Regions from separate parts of the Homo sapiens genome. Here region 1 is linked to region 2. The links are contacts of gene promoters, found by promoter capture Hi-C in blood cells and fetal thymus (Javierre and others, 2016). All regions are on one chromosome and are shown on one strand. Each heading gives the region's core, a stretch centred on a gene start or on the middle of the fragment in contact. The rest is flanking DNA. Distances are from core to core; before and after follow the strand shown. Region 1 overlaps NEMP1 (nuclear envelope integral membrane protein 1). Region 2 holds the start of LRP1-AS (LRP1 antisense RNA).

Region 1 (2,700 bases), core at 12-2,511, 88 kb after region 2:
GTCCATGGAATTTTTAGGAGTGATGACTCTTAATGTTCAGGCTGTCTGCTGTATTCTTGGCCCACTGAAGGGAGCTAGAAGTAAGGATGGATATAGATTACTGATTAATGATTCATAATGTTATTTTGGTGAGCACAGAAAGGTGTGTAAGGGAGCAGAAAAGCCTGTTCCCCCTCGTCTCCTGACAGAAGAAGAATATCGGATACAAGGAGAGGTAGAAACCCGAAAGGCTTTAGAGGAGCTCCGAGAATTTTGTAACAGTCCAGACTGCTCTGCTTGGAAGACTGTTTCTCGAATCCAGTCTCCAAAAAGGTAAACTCGGCCAGATATACCAAGCATCTATCAGGGTAATTGTGACCTTGAGTTCTACCAGAGATCATACTTCTAGAGAATCGTGCACTTGTGACCTTTGTTTTCCTGTTAATCTTCAAGTAGTCAAGAGAAGGGTGGATATATAATCACACATTAAGCAGTAACCTGTTTCCTCAGGGAACTATCTACTCTAGCTTTGATTGTAGCATTAAGATGGGAAGACTCCAGTACCATATTAAGTTTCCCTTCTGAAAGTTTTGCATTGCTGTCTGAGTTGGTAGGGTTCCCCCCTACCCACTTTTTAGTTGGGGGCAAATGTACCAATGAGTATGTGAAGCTTCAATTTGGAATCATGATGGCATAAAGTTTACAGGGCCATAAACGTGAATAACTGTAATGCCCCTTAATCTTCTCTTATCAGGATTACAGATGACTAAAGGAACCTTGGCACTTTCATAATTAGAAAGGATAGGCAAGTGCTTATTAAGCAGGATGGAGTTGCAGGGGTATTAGCCTATGATCCCAGCTTTCCTTTTCTCCTTAACTTCATGCTTTAGTCTACTTACCTGCCAGAGTAAGGACAAGGATGTTGGCTAGACTTAATATAATTTGAGTTGCGAGCATATCGAGGGCTTTAATTTGTTCTTATTTTGAAAGAAGACCAGAAAGGACAGAAGGATATTTCTAACGAGTATTATCTTCTCTTTTCCAGATTTGCTGACTTTGTGGAAGGCTCTTCCCACCTCACGCCAAATGAAGTTTCTGTCCATGAGCAGGAGTATGGATTAGGGAGCATTATTGCCCAGGATGAAATCTATGAGGAAGCATCCTCTGAGGAGGAGGACTCATATTCTCGGTGTCCTGCTATCACACAGAACAACTTTCTAACCTAGGTAGTGGTCAGTTATCTTTACGTGGACTGGCTTGGTGCCTTGGTCCATGTTGCATGTGTTGTGCAATTGCTTTCAACCCTTTGAAACAGAGTGAGATAGATAGGGTAGAAATTCTCCTACTGAAATAAGAGGCCTAAAAAGGCCTCCCTTTGGAAATGGGAGGTCTCTATGGGATCCCTGAGGAAGGAGAGTGGATAAAGTAGTGAATGCTGGGTAGTTCACTTCCCATTGGTTAAGCTAACAGCCCACTTTTATGTTTCCAGAGAAATTGGATGGCCACAGCTAGCATGGCATTCTAGCTCCTTCTTGAAAGTTGATTCAATCATGGCATTTCTGTCACTGGCTGGCTCTCCAAAGTAAGAACTGTTGTTAAGTGCAGGAATGCTTTTAGACTATAGGCTGCAACTTCCAGAGAGAAATCCACAAATCTGAGCCTCCTTCACTCCAGCTTTTATTTCAGTGACTTTAGAATAATTATTGATTTAACTGTTTTGGGAGGAAAATAGATTTTTATTGTTTTGTTTTTTAAATGAATGTCTTTTAAAAAACATAACAAACTCATGTTCCAGAACCAGCAAGTGCTCCAGAGTGACACACCCCCTAGGCCCCTACATATTTATTAATATGGATTATCCATTAAAGCCCCAGGAGCTGTTGTTTTAAGCTTTGATTTAGTTCTCATACATATGATAGAAAGTCCTATTTGCCTTTAGGAACATGCCTGTAGGCTCTTCTGCAGGTGAGATGTACTGGGCTTTTTATTATATTCAACTTTCAATTCCATCTTAAAAAACATTTGTATTCTTCTCTTCCCATTCTTCCTTACCCTGCCTTTGCCCTTTCAGGAAGGGTCAGTTCCCTTACCTGTGAACTATGTATGTTCAGAGTAGCATTATTCCTGCTAGCTAGGAGAAGTCATCTTGTTTAGGGGATTTGGATGCTTTTTATACGTTCTCCATTTTCCTGTCATTGGGTCATGTTATCTTTGAGTTGCTATGAAATCAGGAAACTGTCTCCTTTTCCTTTCCCTTCCTTTGTCTACATGCTCTGTCCATTCCTTTCAGCCTTTTCTCACCACCCATACTCCCCCAAATCTGGGTAATTTTTAAGCCTTGAAACTATGTAGTTTCTTGATACACAATTTGTAGTTATGCAGCAGCCACAATTTGCATTGCCAGGAAATAGGCTCCAGGTTATCTTCATGCCTCTGGGTGCTCATTCAGCTGTCAAGTTTCCATGAACTTACACTTATTTATGATTGCGTTTCTGACCTGAGATGTATGCTGCCTGTTATTGCAGTAGCATTAGTTTCAGATTCTTTTGCCATTGCAAAGTACCCCTTATAAACCAGCAATGTCATCTGTGAGGAAGCAAATTCTCAAGTGTCTGTCATTTACTTGGTTCTTTTTCTTTGTGGTCTTCACCCTTATACCCTGGAAAAGTCTGTAATTACCTTAGCCAGGAAGATAGATGGTCATGGCAAGCGCACAGCACC
Region 2 (2,822 bases), core at 81-2,580:
GGAAGGGAAAAGTGAAGTTGGCCAGCTGGACCTGGGACCCATTTCGCAACCTTGCTGCCTGCAGCCTAGGGGCCCTTTGCTGAGCTCCCCAGCCACCTCCTTCTTCCCCATGCAGCATGGTGCAGGGAGGGGAACCCTGAGACCTCTGAGAGCCCCTTCAGACCATCCTTTCACACACAGTCCAAACTCCTGAGTGACTTCAGCAAACCCGATTTCCTTCAAGGCCTCTATTTACAACCTCAGAACCTCCCCTCACCATACACACCCATGTTCCCAGGACCCCAATCTTGCAGTCTGCCTCATTCTTTCTACAGTGGTGGCATCCTCCAAGGTGAAGGGAATACAGATCAGAGGAGCTCAGCTTAGGAAATGCAGGGCTGGGCTGGGGTCGGTAGACTGCACCACCAGGCCTGCCCAGGGGCAGCCTGGCAGGAGGCTGGACAAAGCTGGGTTACAGGCTCCATAGGCCTCTGGAGCTGAGAGACTGGTCAGAGGTGGGGGTGAGAGTGCGCAGGCCTGGTTCCTGACTAAGGGACTATCAGGCCTGTTGATCCCTCTGGGCCTCAATTTTCAGAACTTTAGTCTTTTGTGTATCACTTTCAAAATGTCTACCATGCTTATGTACAGCTTGCGCTACTGTTTATTACCAGTTATTTCAATTAACTTACTTTTCTTATTTCGCTGCATGCTAAACAATTGCTGAAGTAACAGATTTGATGTGCTAGTTACAGGAGTTTCCTAATGCATATCAAATAAAAACGTAACTATAACAGTTAAAAAAAAAAAAAAAAAGCTTGTCCAGGTACCATCTAAAATCAAATCAATGCATAGCCCCTTTGAGAAAGCAGTAGTGAAAGCCAGGGCTGCTCTTGGTACTGGCCAAGGGTCTTGCCTTCTCTTCCGGCTCTCACCATGGAGTTCTCTGGTCTTGGAATTCGAGCCTCATAGACCTCCCCAAACCACTGGGCCAGCGGCAGAGGGGAGGGGGAGGTAATCTCAGGTGGGAGGAAAAGAGATGACCCACCCAATCCAGGGGGATAACACTGGGCCTGAGGCAGGAGGGTCAGCAGCCCTGGGGCATTGAAGAGGAATGTTCACACACTGCAGGGCCTCAGGGGGGCCCTCGGGGGCTCTCAGGACTCCACAACAGGTCTGACTCACATGGCCCAGGACACATGTGAACCAGGCTCATTTCCTGGCCTCCTTCCTTCTTTCTATTCTATTTCTGCTTCCAGAGTTTTCTCTGGGGCAGGCTCCCCCTTCTGCCTGCACCAGCGGGCTGGCCTCGCTGGCTCGAACACCCCTCAATTGTCAGACTCCTCCCTCTGTGTGCACCCCTGCTGCATGAGGCTCAGCCCCAGGGGTCCAACAGAGGTCACAGTCACAGCACAGAATGGAAGGCTTGCAGGGAGGGCTGCCCTGGAGGGCAGAGTGAAAGCAGGGGAAAGCTGCAGCCTTTCTTCTTCGTCCTCCTTGGGGAGCTAATTACAGGCCAGCAGCCACTGTGCAGGTGAGTGCCTGGGACCAGCCACCCTACACACCAGGGCAGGCCAGTCAGCATCTCCTGGGGAGGGGGATGACCCAGAAACTGGGGGAGGGGCTAGGGGAGAGACACTGACGTCCTCAGTTTGGGACCCATAATTAGTTTGTGGGAGAGAGCAAAACAACCATCCTCAGGGTGACAGCCAGACATTCAGGCGGCAGGGACGTGGAGCAGGGGGAGGGCAGGGAGGAAGGGACAGAAGCTGGGATGAGAGAAACCCACTCATTTACCCCACAAGCATTTCCCCTTGGACTCTTCTAGCCTCCTGGACTCTGCCCCTGAGAGGCCCAGTGAGTTTAGCAGACTGGGAGGCAAGGCAAATCTGTTTGCCAAGGGAGGGGTACCAGCTTCTCCTGGGGAGGAAGTCAGATAAGGAGATGAGGCCAGAGTAGAAGTTGAGAAGGTTACCTCCAGGACACCCCATAGCCACCTACCCAGAAGCCCACTGTATGGCAAGATGCAGGGCTGGGGAGGAAACTGACAAGCTGTCTGCCCAGACAGGCCTGTTGAGTAGGTCAGTGGACAAGGAACAGGGGGAGGGCAGCTGCACAAGAGGGTCTAGCACCAATCCCACCCCATCAGCCATGGGGTTCCCTGAGTCGCCCACTCGTTAAGAGCTCAGCCAACCAGGCTTGACAGCCCCCAGCTCAGCACCCCAAGGAGGACACATGTCTGATCACAGGTGAGCTGTGGACAGCAGCAGCCCAAGGACGCTATCAGGGATGCTCTGGAGGAGCCAAAGGCAGAAATGTGAACCTTACGCTGAGGCCACGGAGAGTGAGGGCTCTCAGAGGAACCCCTGCTCGCCACCATCCCGGGGAGGGGCCTTTCTCTCTCCCAGAATGAATCCCTTGTAACCTCCTGGGATCTTTCTTTTCATCACAAGAACCAAATAAAGAAACTTGAAGATCTTCTAGAGAGGCCCAAGGTTCACAATCCTCAACTTCAAAGTGTGCTGTCCTTTACCACTGGCTTTCACTCCAGTTAATCTGATCTAGACAGACAAGCTCAAACCCATTATGCAGATTAGGAAACCAAGGCAGAGATGGGAATTCTGGTTTACTAAACAGTTACAGATCAAGTTAATCTCCCTTAGGGGGTCAGATCAACCACAGGCCAGATTCTTCCTCTCAGCCCTGTGGTGCATTTCTTTGGAAATGTGATGCTGCCAGATGTTGACTTTTAAGGTTGCTGGTGTAACAGCCTCTGAGATGGGCAGGGCTGTTCCCGGCAGTGGGTCTACACCCAGCTATGCTCGTGCCCCTTTCTGTGACACCCC

Evidence for each region. The method cuts DNA at HindIII sites, captures the fragments that hold promoters and counts their contacts. A CHiCAGO score of 5 or more calls a contact.
Region 1: a fragment that was not itself captured here is called in contact with the fragment with the promoter of LRP1-AS in region 2 in 3 of 17 cell types (megakaryocytes, M0 macrophages and M2 macrophages); the score reaches 6.0 in megakaryocytes.

Annotation. Positions count from the first base shown.
Region 1 is chr12:57,058,384-57,061,083 of GRCh38, reverse strand. NEMP1 (nuclear envelope integral membrane protein 1) reads left to right here. Exons shown (of 9, transcript NM_001130963.2): 8 at 139-312; 9 at 1,025-2,700. The coding sequence ends at 1,205. Among named protein-coding and RNA genes, the nearest start is that of MYO1A, 9.6 kb to the right of the region's middle. The HindIII fragment of the contact is 1,220 bases long and covers 652-1,871 here.
Region 2 is chr12:57,146,127-57,148,948 of GRCh38, reverse strand. It overlaps LRP1-AS (LRP1 antisense RNA), which reads left to right and starts at 1,330. Exons shown (of 2, transcript NR_131938.2): 1 at 1,330-1,510. All of the region lies in intron 6 of LRP1 (LDL receptor related protein 1), which reads right to left. RefSeq lists an enhancer at 1,788-2,716. The HindIII fragment of the contact is 5,560 bases long and covers 796-2,822 here.